Regions from separate parts of the Homo sapiens genome. Here regions 2, 3, 4, 5, 6 and 7 are each linked to region 1. Evidence: promoter capture Hi-C in 16 types of primary human blood cells and fetal thymus (Javierre and others, 2016). All regions are on one chromosome and are shown on one strand. Each heading gives the region's core, a stretch centred on a gene start or on the middle of the fragment in contact. The rest is flanking DNA. Distances are from core to core; before and after follow the strand shown. Region 1 holds the start of RYBP (RING1 and YY1 binding protein). Region 2 has its middle 110 kb from the start of LINC00877. Region 3 holds the start of GXYLT2 (glucoside xylosyltransferase 2). Region 4 has its middle 140 kb from the start of LINC00877. Region 5 has its middle 160 kb from the start of LINC00877. Region 6 overlaps LINC00877 (long intergenic non-protein coding RNA 877). Region 7 overlaps SHQ1 (SHQ1, H/ACA ribonucleoprotein assembly factor).

Region 1 (2,700 bases), core at 150-2,649:
AATAGCTCCTAATACCCAATATCTTGTTTTGGTCCTTCGTGAATACCAGGCATCCATCAGCGAACCTTCCATGCCTGATTTCTCCGAATATTCAAAACAACCCTGGGAGGATGAGCCCCATTTTGGAGATGAAGGAGCTGAGGCACGAGGTTTTAATGCGGGCATGTGGTCGCCAGAATTTGAATAGCAACTTCCCTAAGGAAACGCCCTATTTAGACTCTAGGGGAGAGGAGGATCCCAGGAGGAGTCCGCCAGCAGAAGCTCAGAGTCTGGCCTGGGGGCATTTAGTTATGCCACGCCCTTTCTCTACTGTTCCCTCCCGCGACAGGGGCCTGACAGGGAGTGGGGCTTCGGGCCAGCGTCTCGGCCGGACGCAGGGACTTCAGAAGAGGCAAATACAAAGCTCCGCATGGCAGAGGAACAGAGGGGCGCGGGGGAACGCGGTCCAAAGGTGGACCTTGTCGGCCCCTGGGCACTGCAAGCCTCGAGGCGCTGCGAGCGGTGAGGCTGTTGCAAGCTCCCGCGGCGCGCGCAAACTGCGTGGAACTACTTCCCCGGGGCGGCTTCGGGGCCGGGGTCCCGGCAACAGCCTCACGGGGCGCCGTGCGGGGCCCGAAGCCAGTTGCCAGCTCCCGGGCGCGGCCACGTGCGCCCCGCCGGGCTTGCACGCTCCGCCGCGCCGGGCCGCGGGGCCACCGACAGGCACGCGCGCCCCCAGCGCGCACACACTCCCGGGCACGCACACCGACCGCCCGGCCCACGTCCGCCACGCCCCGCCTTCCCCCGCGCCCCGCCTCCGCCCTCGCGGCGCCGGCCGCCGCCCTCCCATTGGCCGCACGGCGCGTGACGCGCGGCGCCAGGCCCCGCCCCTCGTCAGTCACTCGGCGGAGGCGGCGCTGGCGGGGACTAGTCTCGTCCGGAGACTGTGATGGATTTAACCAGGTGGGGAGGGAGGGAGGGCGCGAGCTTGGGAGTGGAGAGGGAAGGAGCCGGCCCACTCCCCGTCGCCGGCCTCGGGCTGCCCCTGCGCGCCCCCTCCAGATCCGGCCCGCGGCTCCCCTCCCGGCCCCCCCAGCCCCACGCTCAAGTCCACAAGTCCGCCCGCTTCCTGCGCCCGCCGCGGCCCTTCCCGGGGCGCCGCCGCCACCGCCTGGTGTGCGAGGCTATCCGGCCCGGGCCCGGGGCTTGCAGGGTGCCAGTGGGGGCGCCCGGTTCCCTTCCTCGCTCTCTCTTCCAGTCCCCGGAAAGGGTGGGTGGGTGGTCTCCCGAGCGAAGTTTCCAGCACTGGATTCCTGCGAAATTACGACGGCTCACCCGCGTCTGTGTTTTGCTGTCTCTCCCCCGTTTTCCTGCTCCCTGCCTCTTCCCTCCCTTTTCCCCCACTCTCCACTCCTCGGAAGGCCAAAAAGACAAGCGAAACCTGCCGCAGACGAAGGGTTTTGGGATTGTAGCGTCTGCACCTTCAGAAACAGTGCTGAAGCCTTTAAATGCAGCATCTGCGATGTGAGGAAAGGCACCTCCACCAGGTACTTGAAGATCTGTGTTACCTTTTGTTAAAGGACTTTTTTTTTTTTTTTTTAAGTGAGAGGGTAGTGAGCCTTACTTTCTGCCCTTTTTCCAACTTGTTGATTACGGCTTTTTTTGTATTTGCGGGTGGGTTGTGTGTGTTTTTGGGTTGAGTGTATTAAGTGTTGGGTGAAAAGCCTTGTGTTCGCTAAATGATTTATGGGAGGGAATTTTTCCAGGTTTTCATTTTATTTCAAACGGACACTGGATTTATTTGACACTTGTGTCTATTGGCTTATTGGTATTGGCTGGGGAAGAGAGGAAGCAGTACTATCGCTATGGATTGTAGGACATAGATGTTTTATATTTTTGCCATGTGTAGAATGGTTTTAATTTGCCTGTCCCGAGTTACTTTTCTCTTGTCTGAGAAATTTAGTGGGGGTAGTAAGGCTGGCTGTGCTTTTCCTGTCTTGAGCTGCAAATGTCTGTTACTTTCTTGCACTTGAAAATAAATGTCGGTATTTGATAAAGTAAGTGCATTTTGTGGGAGACTGAGCTGTCAGTTTTTTTTTTCTTTGACTAGCTTATGTGGGGTGGTGATGGGGGACGATTTTGTAAAATGGTGAAATGAGCAGTGACTGTGGAAGTTTGTGTTTAAAGCTCTGTGATGATGAAAAGAATGTTGAAAGAATTCCTTTTCATTTTGATGAAGGTCGTAAACTGCATGTGATGTTAAAACGAGTTAACTACTTTAGATTTAACATTCATAAATACTTGGATAAAATGTCAAGACTCATGTAGTCTTTTGGTCATCTTTTAATTTATGTCTGAATTTGTTTCATTGGCGTTAGAGTTTGAAGTTAAACTGTTCTTGGTGTCATTTAATGAACAGGCATTGGGTGTGTGTGTGAGACAAGAATGAGTTTTTGGTGGATCCTTTAGAACATTACAGTTGATTGCCAAAAGTCTCATTTTATCAGGTACTTATTTTTGAATTGGTGACATTTCAGTGTGACTGTGTAGTAGTACTTCACAGTTCCAACTGGATATTGTTCTTTGATTAGATGAATATGTCATGTTAAGGTTTCATTGGTTTATTTATACTTGGGATTAAATAGGATTATTGGGCAACCTAAAATAATCTAACTCTGAGATTAATTGGCCTAATTATTGTTTCTGTGAATTGCACTCTTT
Region 2 (2,700 bases), core at 18-2,517, 460 kb after region 1:
AGGCCACAAGAATAAGGGAACAAAGAAATGAGGTGGAGAAGGAAGGAACGCAAATGTAGGTGGTGCATTACCAATTGGGCTGGCCACAGCTTCACAATGAAACACAGCAGGTTGCTTGTTCATGCAGTACATCTGCAGAGAAGTAAAAGAGGTACTCCTAAGCCTCAGAAGAGTCCATCAGGGGAGCAAAGTGCAAGGAATTTAACTGTGGCTCCTTCACTGCCAGGTCTCTCCTTGGTCAACATTAGCTCCATGGGGCATTGACTCATGCCATTTCTGGGTGGTGTCATCTCCATCTAAGCAGCCACTGAGGAAGCCAAATTCCACGCCCCAAAGCATGATGCTTCTCCTGCGCCTGGAATTAGAGGGAGGAGCCAGGGCCCTGATGAGTCAGGTCAGTCCTGGGCCTCAGAGTGGGCATGACGGGGGTCATGGGAAGGCTTTGCCTTTACTCCAGGGGAGACTGATGCTGCTGCGGGGATTAGAATATGGGGACCTAGGATACAGATGTGAGCCCCTCCCTGATAGAATATTGAGAGGATAATTTTATTTTCTCCAGGACAGTGTATGCCCAGCCACCCAAGAAACATCTATTTTTATGAGGAGATGTTTTAGCTCATGTTGCTTAAAGATTAAAGCTTAGAATAGTGAAGCTGAGCAAATATATGGAGGCCCATAAGTTACATCCTGTGCAGTTTGAATATCCAAGAATGTTTGAGAAACAGTGTATGTTCATTGAACTAGTTTTTTGTTTTTGTTTTAAGCAAACAGGATCTTGCTCTGTCACCCAAGCTAGAATGCAGTGGTATGATCATGGCTCACTGCAGCCTCAACCTCCCAGGCTCAATGATCCTCCCCTCTCAGCCTCCTGAGTAGCTGGTACTATAGATGACTGACACCATGTCCAGCTTTTTTTTTTTTTTTGTAGAGACAGGATCTTACTATATCATCCAGGCTGGTCTCAAATTCCTAGGCTCAAGTGATCCTCCTGTCTTGGCCTCCTAAAGTGCTGGGATTATAGGAGTAGGCCACCACCTCTGGCCTGAACTGATTTTTAAAGGGAGAAATCCAGGGCTCCTTTCTCTTGAGTAGGGAATGTGAGCTGATGGTCAGAGTGGAAATGCACAGAGGCCAGGGGCTGGAGAAGATGAGATAGCCAACTCCTTAAGAGGAAGTGACGGGGAAGACAGAGAGGTTTTTAGAGTTTTATGAAGTTCAGTCTGGGCAGTGCTATAAATTCCCTTTCTCATTTTCCTTGAGATCATCAGCCCCATCTATATTACCTCCTAATAGTTTGTAAAACTGATCTATTTGAGGCAGGGGCACTGGCCCCAGTGCTGAGCTCAGCCTCAAAGAAGGCACAGGGTAAGCTGAGGATTACATTGAGATGTTTGCTTTGCCTGGGGTTCACCAGGTGCCAGCTTTTCCTCTGCATTAGACAGATTTTTGATTTCAAACAACAGAAATTAACTCTGGCTTTCTTCAGTGGAGAAGGAATTGAGAAAGAATATTGGGGACTGGACAGGGCAGGAATCAAGGCAGTTGCAGTAGGTCAATCAACAGGAAGAACCACAATGAATTTTAACAGGAAGCATCTGCCTAGGATGCCACCACTACCACCGCCAGGAAGAAATTAACCACCCTGCGGCTTTGCCTCACTCCCTGCAGATTTAGAGTCCAATTAGCTCAGCCCAGTCAGATGTGTATATATCCTGCCTGCCAGGGGAGCACAGGGAACTGTTGTGAGAGGCAAGGAACCGCGTTCCAACAATTACTACACACATGAGGCAGGAGGGGGTGGATTCTGCTTGTAATTCCGCTTGGAGAAGCAGGAGGCCACAGTCATTAAAGGTACTAGCTCTGGGATCAGATAGCCTGGATTTGAAGTCAAGCTTGGCCATTTTCTTGCTTAATGTACCTGGATAAGTCACTTTAACTCTCTGCTTTTCAGTTTCCTTGCCTATGAAATGAAGCAAAAACAATCCTTACCTTAAATTATCATTATGGGCTGGGTGCAGTAGCTCACTCCTGTAATCCCTGCACTTTGAGAGGCAGAAGTGGGAGGACTGCTTGAGGCCAGAAGGTTGAGGTTACAGTGAGCTACAGTCACGCCACTGCACCCTAGCCTGGGCAACGGAGCGAGACCCAGTTTCTAAAAGAACCCAAAAAGCTTCGTTATAAGAAGAAAAAAATTAATTTAATTAAAACATTTAAAGCATCATTATGAAGATTAAGGGTTAAAGCCCTGAAAACGTTGTTAGGGCCAAAAATTGTTAGCAACTTGTATTAGTTTCCCGTGGCTGCTGTAACAGATACCACAAAAACTGGCTCGGTTAGGAAAACAGAAATGTACTCTGTCACTGTCTGGAAGCTAGAAATTTAAAGTCAAGGTGTCAGCAGGACTGCACTCCCTCTGGAGGCTGTAGCAGGGATTCTGTTCCCTGCTGCTTCCAGCTTCTGGTGGAGCCTGGCATTGCTTAGTTTGTGGCCACATCACTCCAATCTCGGCCTCTGCCTTCATGTGGACTTTTCCTCCTCTGTCTTCTTATCTTCTGTCTCTTATATGAACACGTGCATTCCACTGAAGACTTATCCAGATGATCCAAGATGATCTCATCTTGAGAGCCTTGCTTAATTGCACCTGCCAAGACCCTTTCTCCAAATAAGGTCACATTCACAGGTACTAGGTGGACATATTTT
Region 3 (2,700 bases), core at 58-2,557, 440 kb before region 1:
TGGCAGTTAGAAACAACAGTTTTGAAAGGGCAGATGAAACAGACTCGCTACAAGACAAGGGGATTGTTGAAAAGCCCTCCACAACAAAGGAAATGAACTCAAATCCCTAACCTGCGGGGCGTTCCAGCAACCCTGAGGCCAAAAATAAAGCTCTCTGATGAAAAGCCTCCGCGTGTTAGGCTTTGTGTAGGGAAAGAGAGTATCAAACAGAAGGTCGAAGGTTAAGTTGTTTTTCTTGTAGGAGGACCCTTTGACCACACTCGAGCCTGAAACAGAATGAGGATCTGGAAACCCCCACTCTGTCTTTTCTGTGCCACGCATCAGTCCTTTCAAGGAGAAAACTTCTTTTTAATAAACTTAGGTCAAGTGTCCCTTCTGTTCTAAGCATGGGGGTACTCGAGGTTAAATGAGAGGCTGCCAGTCCTTGGTAAACATCTAACTTTTCCAACTCAACCATATCTAAGGTTTCGGTAAAATTCTCCAGTGAAACATGAGAATTAGATAAAACATTCTTGCACCGTGATGGCTTTTGACAAATTAAACAAAGGGTGCATGTTTGCAAGAGTGCAAAAATACGCCTTGCCTTGACAGTTAAAAAATGTAATGTACGAAACCACTTTCCTTGACACTTCAAAAAATGTACGTGATTATCAACACCGAGCTGTTAGGGGGACTCCACCAAGGTGGGTCTTCTTTTCTATCGGGTTAAGAAACAGAAGTGGGCAGCCCGTGGGTGAAACTTGGAAATCTGTCTCTCCAGCGCAAAGCCTCCCTTGGACTTGGCACGGGTGTAGGGAGCGAGACACGGGTCCGCAGATGGGATTCTGGGGTTGCCACGACTCACCTCGCCAACTTCTCCAGTCTCGCAGCGCCCCGGCGGCCCGCTCGGGGGCGCGGACGCGGGGGCCGGCGCCTCCGAACTCCCGGGCTGGCCCCGGGGAGGGCGCCCGGCCCCGGCCAGCGCGCGGGGACAGGCGCGGGGTGGCGCTGCGGGGCGGACGCGGGGCGCGCGGGCAGCGCTGGGGGCTCAGCGCGGCCAGCGCGCAGGGACAGCAGCGCCAGCAGCAGCGCGGCCAGCGCGAGCAAGAGCAGCGCCGCCGCCTTGCTGCGGAGCTTCATGGTGCGGCGCGGCGGCGGCGGCGGCCCCCAGGCGGCTCGGCCCCTCTGCGCATCGCGGCGGCGGCAGGATGAGTGCAGCAGCGCGCGGCGGTCGCCTCCTCCGCCCGCCCGCCGGGGACTGGGGTCGTGGCGGCCGGCGGGCGGCCGGCGGCGGCGGCGACGGCGAAGGAGGAGGAGAGAGAGGAGAGGAGGGGGAGGCGGTGAGAGCTGGGTTACAGGAGGAGCAGCCTGCGCCTACCGTACTGTGTGGAGTAGCCGCCCCTCCGCCCGCCCGCAGCCAGGCTCTCGGGCTTCTGGTAGCTCAGACTCAAAACCACTTCATTCATTCATTCGTTCGTTCGTTCGTTTACTTCCCCATTCACTCACACACCCATGCCATCCACTGTTCCCGCTGATTCTCTCATACCATGATTCACTTATTTGTTGATGTATTCCATGTGCTTCCTCCTTATTTATTTTATCCATCTATCCACACATTTGTGCACTTATCCACACATCCTTTCAGGCAGGAACATCTCTGTCCTGTTTGCCCAGTGCAGGGATCTGCGGGTGGTGGTGCCCAATAAATATCTGTTGAATAAACCCCTATTGCCGCCTCTGTCTTGCCACCTCCCTTTTTCCTGGAGGAGGACATATTCAACAAGGACACATGCAAAATAAGGCAAAGCGAGTAAAAGTAACACGTGATTAGTAGTTGGGGTTTCAGACTCAAAACACCAAAGTAGAACTTGGGACAGCTAGACTGGACCGAACCGATCCATGTAGTCTGAAGAAATTAGAGAATGAATTTCAAAGTTTGGATTTGAAATCTGACACTGTGCTTAACTGGCTTGGTGATCCTGAGGAAGCTGCACAACTTTCTTAAGCCTTAACTTCCTTACGTGCAAAATGGGAATGACAATACTGCTCACTACAGAGGCGTTTTGTGAGCATTAAATTAAATAATGCCTTCAAAGAAACTAGCACAGTGCCTGGCTCACAGTCGGTGCCCAATAAAAGTTCTGTAATGATTAGTTCAATAAAACATAGCTTATAATATACACATAAACACACATTTTATTTTCTTTCTGGCACAGATTTGAGATAGAGTAATAATTTCACAACACAATGTAAGAATGGCTTCTTTGGAGACTTTAACAGCTGCAATCGCCAGATGAAGGTCGTAATTTCCAGACGATTCTTCCAGGGGATCCCCAGTTACAAATCTGAAACATTAGGACACATCCTCTTATGACTCACGGTGAACTGACAGCCAGGACTCCATTAACTCTCTTTTCAGCACACCACAGAACAAAGAACACTAGTTAAGTTATAACAACGTCCCTGAGTTTTTCAGTTTTTTTTTTTTTTTTTTTTTTGGATCACTCTGTAGCCCAGGCAGGAGTGCAATGGTGCAATCTTAACTCACCGCAGCCTCCGCCTCCCGGGTTCAAGCCATTCTCCTGCCTCAGCCTCCCAAGTAGCTGGGATTACAGGCTGCGCCACCACACCCGGCTGATTTTTGTATATTTAGTAGAGACGGGGTTTCACCACGTTGGCCAGGCTGGTCTTGAACACCTGACCTCAAGTGATCCGCCCGTC
Region 4 (2,700 bases), core at 151-2,650, 480 kb after region 1:
GGGGTGTTCTAGTTTATTGCTGTGTGACAAGCCACCCCAAAGCTTAGCAGCTTAAAACACCAGCCATTTTATTATATGTCATAATTTTGTGGGGCAAGAATTCAGGCAGGGCTCTACTGAGAATTCTGCTGCTCCACGTGGAATCAGGTGAGGGCCTCTGGTGGTGTGCAGCTGGTGGAAGGGCTGGTCTAGTGCCTTGGCTGCAAGGCTGGGTTCAGCTAGGACTATTGATTGGCACACCTACAATTGCCTTCCCAGTGTGACAGTCAGACTTCTTACATGGTGGCTCAGAGGTCCAAGAAACCCTGATGGCAGCTGCAAGGTTTCTTATGATCTAGCATCAGAAGTTTGAGACTGTCCCTTCCGTTGCATTCTATCAGCCAAGGAAGTCACTAAGGTGAGCCTACTTTCAATGGGAGGGGAAAGAGACTCCTCCTCTCTATGATAGGAGTAGCAAAGATTCCATAGCCATCTCTATATATCCAGGAGGCATTACGCATATGTCTAGCCAGAATGTTTGTCTCAGGTCAGGGAAGGTCCCCCACCCAGGGCCTTTTATATAACTTAGTTATCTGCCCCATGAGAAGGCAGGTGTTGGCTGCCAGCCCAGTAGAAGCCATTGCCAGAGAAGCCAGGAAAGTCTCAAAAAGAAACAATAACACCCCTTAAGAGGCATTTGTCCCTTTTTCCCCAGCCTGCTCCTCAACCCCTAAAGCACTAGAGGAAGAAGAGCTAAAAAACAGACCACATCCCTTCCTCCTCAAGATGCCTTAGGTCAAAACCAGGTGTGCTCTGGGGGTTGGGAAATGAAGTTAAATTGGGGTATGAGATTGAATCTTCAAACTTTAAACTAGCCCGGACTGGACTTTTAAAACGTAAAAATGACTGGAAAACTAGGGCTGAAATCTGATTAACGGAGAGTAGACATAGCACAGTTAAAGTCAATAATTAGAGAAAATAAGACAGTTGTTTGTATCTTTACTGAATTTAGATTTTTCAATAACCTGGTAACATTTTCATAATAACATATGGGTGTTATGCAATTAGCAAGAAATAGGTTTGTAAGATTTGAAGATGCTCCTTCCTGAAAAAAGTACAGAGCTTAAACCTCTTCTAAATGATCCATTGTAAGGGCCCATAATCTTTTCTCTGAGATGAAGCAGGGACACTGGTATTGGAGAGGAAAAACTTTTCCTCTACCCTCTTAGGTGAGATAACTGGGGGCCTGTGAATTAAACTCACAAAAGACAAACTGACAGGAGAAAACGCACACAATTTTTATTCATATTTATGTGCATGAGAGTTCACAGAAAAGAAGTGAAACGCAAGCAGTTAGACTTGAGAGCTTGTGTGCCCTTTTAACAAAGAAAAGAGGATCATAAATTGTGGGGCAGTAACTGGGACATATACGGGGGAACTAAGGGAAAATAAGGATTCTTTTAGTAAAGTCTGTTTACGTAGACTCATCTTTGTATGGACCCTTCATCTCTTCACTCTTCTCTTCCTGGTACATGTGTTTGGGATCAGTCACAAAAAGGAATGCCGCCTTCTGGTGTGGGACTTTGGTGGCATTCACTCCCTGTGCTGCAAGCGTTGCTGAGAAGTTACATCTAAGATAAAACAGGAGCAAAGGATCCAGCTTTCAGTTTTCATAAGACTCAAGAGCAGCATCAGCATCACTCAAGGAACGGAGATGGACACAGTGGGGTATTAAAAATACTGGTGACTAGCGCTAGGGAGGCTGAGGCAGGAGAATCGCTTGAACCCAAGAGGCAAAGGTTGCAGTGAGCCAAGATCACACCACTGCACTCCAGCCTGGGTGACAGAGCAAGACTCCATCTCAGAAAAAAAAAAAAAAAAAAAAAAATTGCTGATGACTGCATCAGTCGAGTTCCTGCCAGGACACAGATGGTGCTCTCAGCATGAGTAATTTGAGGTGTGTTTAGTAAAGGCACTATCTACAAAGGGGTGGGCAGAGTATGGGACACCATAGTGGACTTGCAAAAACGCAGGGCTGGTAACAGAGAGCTATTATCACCCTGATGCCTTGAAGGGACAGGAAGGGACAATTATGGGGACCTGGAGGTGGCATGGGCTTCCCGGGAGGAGCTGTGATCTTTGAGGGATGCTGCCACTCCCAGGCAATTCCAGAGGGAAAGAATGAATTGGTAGAACCCAACCAGAAGCCACAGGAAAGGTGCCTCCTGGGCCACAGAGCAGGGTGGAGAATGGCCAAGAATAGATTGTGACAATGGAAAATACCCAGCACGGTGACAGTAAAATGGAATATCAGCAATCACTACCAAGCAGGAACTCACTACATTCCAGACCTGGTGCTGAGCATTTTACAGGCATTCACTGATCGAATCATCGCAAATTTATCAGCACAGTTTCTATTCATATTGCCCACATCACAATTTACTAAATTGTCCAGCACTGCACAGCTAGGAAGTGGTACGACTGGGGTCTGTCCTTTTCATTGTCTTTAATGAGCTCTTTCAAAACTCTGTTGTAGGAAACTGATAATAATGCCAATAAGTTTGGTCCAGTGGAGATGCCATTGAGTACCCTTTGGAAGTAGACAGTACCGCATCTGTAGGGGCGTAAAAAAAATAGTCTCTCTACATTTCATAGTTCTTAGTTAGGACAGACTCCTATAACAAAAGACAGATTAACAAGAGAAAAAGTTTATTAACATGT
Region 5 (2,700 bases), core at 133-2,632, 500 kb after region 1:
TCCCCAGGGAAGGGACTCTGCTTGGCCCAATGTGAGTCAAGAGCCCACTGCAAAGCAGTCACCTATAGCCACAGGAGAGGCCACATGTTATCACACGTCACCAAATGCCTGCTGAACTAAGGGGGTGTGGTTGTTAAGAGGAGATTGTTGTGAACAGGGCAGACACTCTCAAAGTGTCTGCTGTGGGTGACTGTAGAGAAAGTAGAGAATAAAGTCATTCCCCTCTCCAGCCAACCCCACCCCTCACAGCCCACGTACCAAGGGTGGTCTGAGAACCTGGCAGAGAAAATGGCACCATGAGCAAGACATGAAAAATTCATTGATTGCCTGCCTGTCTGTGAGGGAAGCAATGCCAAGCTTCATTCATGCTCATCATTAATTCAATCCCAGGCTGGACTCTTTGGCTCAGAGCTTTCAGTTTAAAACAAATGAGCTTGGATGCACAGTCAGCCTACGGTTGTCTGCAGGTGATCTATGTCGACGTTGGCTTCTCTCTGGCAAACCCTCCTTTCAAAGTTATTGCCAGTTAACAGATTCTACACAGCCCTAACTACCCCTTGGAGGACATTTGGAGCTCCGGATTTGCAGTTAGCACCTTTCTCTGCTTAATTACAGCATTATGGATATCTCTGCACCCTCTGTTTACTTTGCCTGCTGAGATGCATGCTGAAAGCCAAGTGCCACCTGCCTGGCTCCAGGGAAGGTTAGAGAGGCAGACCTTTCATCAAGCAGAGAATAAGCTGTGTACCCCCAGGGAGCAGTGGCTGGGAGGAGCTGGGTGAGCACCAGGTGGGAAACTTGGCTCTCAGTTTCTTGCCTCTCCAGAGTGAAGTCTTTACCAAGGGGCCCTCTTTTGTTCTTAGAATGAAAACAATAGCTCATATTATTGAGTTCTTATTATGCGTCTATCACTTTGTTTGGTGGCCAGCCTCCAAGATGGCCCTCTGTCGTCCTTACCTTCTAGTACACATGCCCTTGGGTAGTCCCTTCCCACAATGAAGCAGAGTTGACCTGTGTGAGCAGAAGAATATTACATAAGGAATGGTATGTGACTTCTGAGGTTATGCCATAAAAGACATTGAGGCATCTGCCTTTGCCTCTTGGATAGCTTGCTCTGGAGGAAGGCAGCTGCCATGTTGTGAGGACACTCAAGCAGTCTTCAGGAAAGGCCTGTGTGGGGAGAAACTGATGCCTTTGGCCAATATCCAGCACCAATTTGCCAGCCATGTGTGTGAGTCACCTTGGAAATGGATGCTCCAGCCCTGATTAGGCCTTCAGATGATCCCAGCCCCTAGCTTCCAAGTCTTCCAGCTGCAGCCCCCCAGATAGTGGAGCAGAGCTAAGCGGCCCCAAGTGTACTCCATCTGAATTATCCATGCAAACTGTGAGGTACAATAAATGATTGCTGTGGTTTCAAGTCATTAAGTTTTGGGGTGGTTTGTTAGAGAGTACAGTCGATCCTTGTACAAAATGGGTTTAAATTATGCAGGTTTACTTATATGCAGGTTTTTTTCAATAAAAGTTACATTGAGCATGCCTGCCTCTCCTGCCTCCCCTTCCAGCTCCTCCACCTCTTCTGCCTCTGCCAACTGGAAACAGCAAGACCAACTCCTCCTCTTCCCCCTCCTCCTCAACCTACTCAACTTGAAAACAATGAGGATGAAGACCTTTATGATTAATGAATAGTAAATATATTCTCTCTTCTTTAAGATTTTAATAACATTTTCTTTCCTCCAGCTGACTCTATTGTAAGAATACAGCCACCTATATGCTTCAATACATGAGCATACAAAATATGTCTTCATTGACTGTTTATGTTATCAGTAAGGCTTTTGGTCAACAGTAGGTTATTAGCAGTTAAGATTTTGGGGAATCAAAAGTTATATCCAAATTTTCAACTGTGTACCCTTAGCCTCCATGTTGTTCAAGGGTCAGCTGTAATAGATCACTAACATGCTCTGTGTGTGCTTTAGAGCAGCAGTCCCCAACCTCTTTGGCACCAGGGACTGGTTTCATGGAAGACAATTTTTCCACTAATAGGGGTGTGGGGATGGTTTTGGGATGACTCAAACACATTACATTTTTTGTACACTTTATTTCTATTATTGTTACATTGTAATATATAATGAAATAATTATACAACTCACCATAATGTAGAATCAGTGAGATCTCTGAGCTTGTTTTCCTTCAACTAGACGGTTCCATCTTGGGGTTATGGGAGAAAGTGACTGATCATCAGGCATTAGATTATCATCAAGAGTGAACAACCTAGATCCCTTGCATGTGCAGTTCACAATAGGGTTTGTGCTCCTTTGAGAATCTGATGCCGCAGTTGATCTGACAGGAGGCGGAGCTCAGGCAGTAATGTGAGCAATTGGGAGCAGCTGTAAACACAGGTGAAGCTTCACTGGCTCTCCCACTCCTCACTTCCTGCTGTGTGACCTGGTTCCTAAAAGGCCACAGACTGCTACCAGGGCGGGGGACGGGGTGGGCGGTGCGGTTGGGGTTGGAGACCCTTGCTTTACAGCATTATTTCCTGTAATCCGCACAACAGCCTACAAGATAGATGCTATTAGCCATCCACATTTCACACATGAGAAAATAGAGGAACAGAAAGTTTTCTTGCTTACCAGATCCATTGGTGGTTCATCCATATCCCCTCAGTCTTCACCCTCCCAGTCCTTGCCACATCCTACCGTC
Region 6 (2,700 bases), core at 103-2,602, 380 kb after region 1:
TAGTTTTAAGACCTTTCAACTGATTAGGTCAGGTCCACCCAGACTATGGAGAATAATTTTCCTTACTGAAAGATTATGGACTTTAATCACACCCACAAAATACCTTCCCAGAAACACCTAGACTAGTGCTCCATTGAATAACTGGGAGCTATAGCCTAGCCATGCTGACACATACAACTGACTGTCACAGATGGGAAAGGGAGGGGTGCCCACACAGGGAAGGCTTCTCTAAGAGGTGGGGTCATTTGAATTGATACGTGAACATTGAAACACTGAGCATTAAACTGCCATTCTAAGAGCCATGAGATGAGAATATTCCAGATGGAAAGAAAAGCAGATGGAAAGGATCTCAGATGGGAAAGAATCTGTCTTATTTTAGGAACAAAAGGAAGGTCAATGTGTCTGGAGTGGAGTGATCAAGGGGCACAGTGGTACCTGAGTGAGTGGGAGAGGAGGACAGAAGCTGGGTTGTGCACAGTGATGTATAAAAGTCAAGTTTATAGAACTCCAGATTACTACTTATTACTACTTATAAAAAGATGGTGATGGTTAGAGAAATTAGAGCAGGTCTCTGAAGAAGCTTCTACCTGAGTATTTCTGGGTATCAAATTGGTATAAAGGTGTCTATTTGCTGGCTCAAAAAAAGTGCTTAAGGCATGGAACTTAAGAAAGCCTGAACATCACCAAATTGAAATGATCTAGGACTCCATAAAGTCAGACCATCCCTTATTATTAGGTTGGTGTAAAAGTAATTGTAGTTTTTGCCATTGAAAGTGATGGCAAAAAAATTATTGTTTCAGAAAAGCAATCTTCTCAAGAGCTGAAGAACAAGCTTAATAGCTGGGGAACCTCCATGGGACATCTCCAGTCTAGAGGTTTTCCTTAACCAGTCTTTGCATTCCAGGGCCTTTTGAAGGCTAGAGTTGTCAGATGGCAAACCAATTGTTTACATGAAGCCGCTCAATATGAGTCAACACTTTCTGTGTCTTGGGGACTTACAACTTGCTTAAGGAAAGATTGCAACAATTTTCCTTAAACAAACAACAAATCAGTTTTACATATTGATACTGAATTGTAATTCCACAGACAGCTTTGTCTCCTGGCTATTGTAAATATGTTTGTGAACCCTCAGTATTGGTGATGTGCAGAAAACATTATTACCTAGGCCAGCTGGAAATTCCTGATATCAATAACTTTTCCGAATTTGCCTGTTGCCTACAACTTAAACCAGGATTCCTCCAAACTGGATAAAAGAACTTCGGGAAAATCACTTATTTTCTCTGAATCTAGGTTTCCCTATCTATTATGGGAAAAAATGAAGATTTTTCAACTCTCTGAGTTATCTTTTGACCCAGAAATTCTGGTTCCATGAGAATTCTGTAGATAATATGTAGATTATCTCCAGTATTTTGTTTCAATTCAGTAGACAGAAGAGGCAAGAAATGTTGATACCTGTTATATGTCATGTGCTAGAGCAATTTTGCTTCCTAAAATCTTCATGATGGATTCTTCCTGTTCTATCTCCCCACCCCCACTAATAATCAAATAATGATCTATTGTAGCACAAAAAATTACCCCTAAAATCTAGTGGCTTAACACAAAAAAAATATTTACTATCTCCACAATTTCTGTGAATTAGGAATTTGAGACATAGCTGGGCTCTGGCTTAGGGTCTCTCATGTAGTTGCAGTCAAGATGCCAGCTGGGTCTATGGTCAACTGAAGGTTTAACTGGGGCAGGAGGAGCACATGGCTGTTGGTGGAAGCCCTCAATTTCTCACCATATGGCCTCTCCATATACTGTTTGGTATATCCTCATGACATGGCAGCTGGCTTTTCCCAGAATGAGTGACCTAAGAAAGAAGGAAGCTTAAGTGTGTCTTATGATCTAGTCTTGGAAGTCATACATGATCAGTCTCATTATATCTACTGGTTAGAAGTAAATCAGTAAGTCCAGCCCCACACTCAAGTCGGGGATGGAAATTAGGAGGACTGCCAAGCACTTTTGGACATATTTTAAACCACCAAAGTTCTGTCTTGTGTGTGTGCCAGAGAAACTTCACTCCCTAAGACCCTGATGATATTGTTCTTCCAACTCTATCTTCCCAACCTCACCCCTACTAGATAAATAGTATTTAGCCTATAACTTTTCTCTCCTTCTGTCTTGTATAATTTATTCTGAGCACAATGTGGCCTTGCTTAAGAAAACCTGAACATCAAAAATACTCCTCTTTTGCTGCTTTCAAGTTTTTAACTCCCTTGGTAGTAATTGGCAAATCTTCCCTTCCCCACCTCTTAGGTAGTCCATTGCATGAGGATAGGGTAAGGGGAAAGTAGAGGTTAAAATAAGGGATATTTTTTTCTTTAGCCCTTTGATATGGTTTGGCTGTGTCCCCACCCCAATCTCATCTTGAATTCCGACATGTTATGGGAGGTGCCCAGTGGGAGGTAATTGAATCATCGGGGCAGGTCTTTCCTCTACTGTTTTTGTGACAGTGAATAAGTCTCATGAGATCTGATGGTTTTTAAAACGGAGAGTTTCCCTCCACAAGCTCTCTTTACCTGCTGCCATCCACATAAGATGTGACTTGCTCTTCCTTGCCTTCTGCGATGATTGTAAGGCCTCCCCAGCCACGTGGAACTGTGGGTCCAATTAAACCTCTTTCTTTTGTAAATTGCCCAGTCTCAGGTATATCTTTAT
Region 7 (2,700 bases), core at 192-2,691, 390 kb before region 1:
GCTGTTTTGGGCTTGCCAATCTAACGCTGTACATGAATGATAATAAATGTCACACAGGCTAAGTATGGATTTTACATTTACATTAGAAGTGCTTCTTTGAGGCCAGGGATTTGTTACTTAATTGTTGCTTCTGTTTACGGAAAATCCTTTTGAAAGATTTCTGACAGGTTGCTGAGATGTTGTAGGAATGCCATAATGTGAGCCTAGAATGAGTGCCTTTTAGGTCAGAAATTCTTGTATCTTGAAAATGTTCACTTAATAATTTAGGTTTTTTTTTTTTTTTAAGCTGCTATACTTTCTTTTTGGATGTCTTAACTAATGTATCAAATACCTAGACATCTATTACTTAGGTTAAAAACATTAAACATTAACCAATATAGTTGACTCCTGTCTAATCCCTTTTTGTTTACATCCCTCTGTTTCCCATCAGAAATAAACCACTGTGGCTGGGTGCAGTGGCTCACACCTGTAATTCCAGCACTTTGGGAGGCTGAGGCAGGCGGGTCAGGAGTTTGAGACCAGTCTAGCCAACATGGCAAAACCCTGTCTCTACTTAAAAATACAAAAATTAGCTGAGCGTGGTGGCGCATGCCTGTAATCCCAGCCATTTTGGAGGCTGGCAGGAGAATCGCTTGAACCCAGGAGGCAGAGGTTGCAGGGAGCCGAGATTGCGCCACTGCACTCCATCCAGTCTGGGTGACAGAGTGAGACTACATCTCAAAAAAATAAAAAAGGAAATGAACCACTGAATTTAATGTTTATTATTCTAAGCTTTTAAAATGGCTTAATCATCTAAAATCATTAAACTCTTCTTCAAATTTTAATTGCAAGAGCATTGCTTTTCTAAACAATTTGAATGAATATTCCCTAATGTAGGGGAAAAACAACTGAGCATTTGGGAAAACTCTAAGGGTTTTATAACGTAAATAGTATACTACTTGTAGTACAGGTTTATAACCCCATATGTGCAATACTGGGATCACACAAAGTTCTGAAAACTAAAAGTTAAAATATTTAATTTGGTGGCAAAACTTAACCTGAACCGATACAGATTTTTAAATCCCACTTAGTGTACGTATTCAAAAATTTCCTGTAGAAGTAGTGTTTGGATATGGGCGCTGCCCCAGACATCTTAGAGGTTATTACATAAAGTATGGTGTGTGCACCATGTTACCTTTCTAAACTCTGAAAGAGTGAATCCTGAAGCTCACCTTGCTCCAGGGGATTTGGATAGCACTGTGCTGAGCACTGCGTGTGCAGCAACCAGACTTAGAAATCAAGTGTAAGCCCAAGATTCCAAAAATTGAAATGTATCCTCTTGAAGATATTAAGGTAGATAGGTTTTATGAAATATTGCCACAGAAATCTTGCATAATTGGTTAATTACTTGTAGAGTTCTTCTTCATTCACAGCTGCTGTTTATGGCAGCCGTAACAAGTGGTTCAAAACTGAGTGATCATGTAAGGTTAATAATATGACCCTAATTCTATGAGTAAAGCAGCTAGAAGAAACTGAAATGATGATCACAAATAAGAGATTTTAGAACATCTTTTCTAATTTAAAATGATTTTGAAAACTTCACCATTTTCTCAAATAGTATTTTCTCACAAGTTTATTTTTTCTAGTTCTGCCTATAGATGAAGAGATGTCCATACAGCTTCATTGACTACTCATATGAGTATTTTTACAGCTTTTTCCTCCCCCTGTAGATGAAAAATGGCTTTTTTGTTTCTAATAATAAAAGCAATACAGATTTATTATAAAAATATACAAAGAAGAAAGTAAAAAAATTATTCATAATTTCAACACTGAGGGATCTTTTCTTCATTGAATAATTTAGCCCTTTACAGAAGTCTTTCATATTTTTTTGCCTCCAACTTTTTAGACAGGATTTGTTTGTAAACATCTATATTTTATACTGATAATAAGAAAATAAAATATTTTTGCTGAAACAAATTCTCTTTGAACATTCCTCCCTCCACTCCCCATACCCAGAGATATATTCTTCCTATCCCCAGTCTTTTTTTCCTTTCTGAAATTGCTGCCAGCCACCAGGGTGCCTTTGGAAAACTGCCCTAGCTGCTCAAAGTCAGGACTTCACAACAAGCTTCTGGCAGTGGTGGCTGCCAGCAGCAACAATCCTAGAGTCTCTGGGCGCCAACCCAGCAAGCTCCTGGGACTGCTGCTGCCAGTGCTGCAGGACGCCAGGCTTGCTGGCCCTGTCCTTTTGGCTACACAGGGACCTGAGGCCATTGTTTCCGGGATACCCACTAGCCAGATGTGTTCATTGTTCTTTATTTTCTTTCTGGATTGTCTCTGCCTAACCTGTGCCTAAACTTCCATAAACTTAATTTAAATCCTACCTGACCTTTTCTTGGCAATGTCTATCTTTAAATAGCTCTAATAACTAGTGGCCATAGCAATTGTTTAAAAGAAAAAGGAACCTTTTTTTCCTACTGTAGTTGAACACTTCTCATCCTCTTTCTTCCCTTTGGTTGATTAATGCCTTCTACTTCTAAACCCCAAGCTACCTTTGCTTTTAGTTTGTTTCTGTTTCTTTTTAGAGTCCAGTTTGAACAGGGCTGCTGCATGTGACTGTGCATAGAACAAGCCTGGGTGGGGCTTGCACTGCTCTGAACACTCATGTTCTGCTGTGTACATGTTGCATGACTATAGTGGAGGCCCTGAATCTGGAGGCCA

What was found. The method cuts DNA at HindIII sites, captures the fragments that hold promoters and counts their contacts. A CHiCAGO score of 5 or more calls a contact.
Region 2: a fragment that was not itself captured here is called in contact with the fragment with the promoter of RYBP in region 1 in 6 of 17 cell types (naive B cells, M2 macrophages, M1 macrophages and 3 more); the score reaches 8.2 in naive B cells.
Region 3: a contact is called between the fragment with the promoter of GXYLT2 here and the fragment with the promoter of RYBP in region 1, in 3 of 17 cell types (fetal thymus, neutrophils and naive CD8 T cells). The highest score is 11.0, in fetal thymus.
Region 4: a fragment that was not itself captured here is called in contact with the fragment with the promoter of RYBP in region 1 in 6 of 17 cell types (naive B cells, M0 macrophages, megakaryocytes and 3 more); the score reaches 10.0 in naive B cells.
Region 5: a fragment that was not itself captured here is called in contact with the fragment with the promoter of RYBP in region 1 in 2 of 17 cell types (total B cells and naive B cells); the score reaches 6.7 in total B cells.
Region 6: a fragment that was not itself captured here is called in contact with the fragment with the promoter of RYBP in region 1 in 2 of 17 cell types (naive B cells and total B cells); the score reaches 10.9 in naive B cells.
Region 7: a contact is called between a fragment that was not itself captured here and the fragment with the promoter of RYBP in region 1, in 3 of 17 cell types (M1 macrophages, M2 macrophages and erythroblasts). The highest score is 6.9, in M1 macrophages.

Annotation. Positions count from the first base shown.
Region 1 is chr3:72,445,322-72,448,021 of GRCh38, reverse strand. It overlaps RYBP (RING1 and YY1 binding protein), which reads left to right and starts at 1,399. Exons shown (of 4, transcript NM_012234.7): 1 at 1,399-1,526. The coding sequence starts at 1,399. RefSeq lists silencers at 553-962, 1,023-1,082. The HindIII fragment of the contact is 10,688 bases long and covers 1-2,700 here.
Region 2 is chr3:71,986,961-71,989,660 of GRCh38, reverse strand. No RefSeq gene overlaps it. Among named protein-coding and RNA genes, the nearest start is that of LINC00877, 110 kb to the left of the region's middle. The HindIII fragment of the contact is 1,254 bases long and covers 641-1,894 here.
Region 3 is chr3:72,886,653-72,889,352 of GRCh38, reverse strand. GXYLT2 (glucoside xylosyltransferase 2) reads right to left here and starts at 1,307. Exons shown (of 7, transcript NM_001080393.2): 1 at 845-1,307. The coding sequence starts at 1,119. RefSeq lists silencers at 808-937, 1,038-1,267. The HindIII fragment of the contact is 7,571 bases long and covers 1-2,700 here.
Region 4 is chr3:71,962,248-71,964,947 of GRCh38, reverse strand. No RefSeq gene overlaps it. Among named protein-coding and RNA genes, the nearest start is that of LINC00877, 140 kb to the left of the region's middle. The HindIII fragment of the contact is 2,712 bases long and covers 45-2,700 here.
Region 5 is chr3:71,942,686-71,945,385 of GRCh38, reverse strand. No RefSeq gene overlaps it. Among named protein-coding and RNA genes, the nearest start is that of LINC00877, 160 kb to the left of the region's middle. The HindIII fragment of the contact is 2,045 bases long and covers 360-2,404 here.
Region 6 is chr3:72,067,064-72,069,763 of GRCh38, reverse strand. All of the region lies in intron 2 of LINC00877 (long intergenic non-protein coding RNA 877), which reads left to right. Among named protein-coding and RNA genes, the nearest start is that of LINC00877, 32 kb to the left of the region's middle. The HindIII fragment of the contact is 1,036 bases long and covers 835-1,870 here.
Region 7 is chr3:72,836,535-72,839,234 of GRCh38, reverse strand. All of the region lies in intron 4 of SHQ1 (SHQ1, H/ACA ribonucleoprotein assembly factor), which reads left to right. Among named protein-coding and RNA genes, the nearest start is that of SHQ1, 11 kb to the left of the region's middle. The HindIII fragment of the contact is 1,336 bases long and covers 774-2,109 here.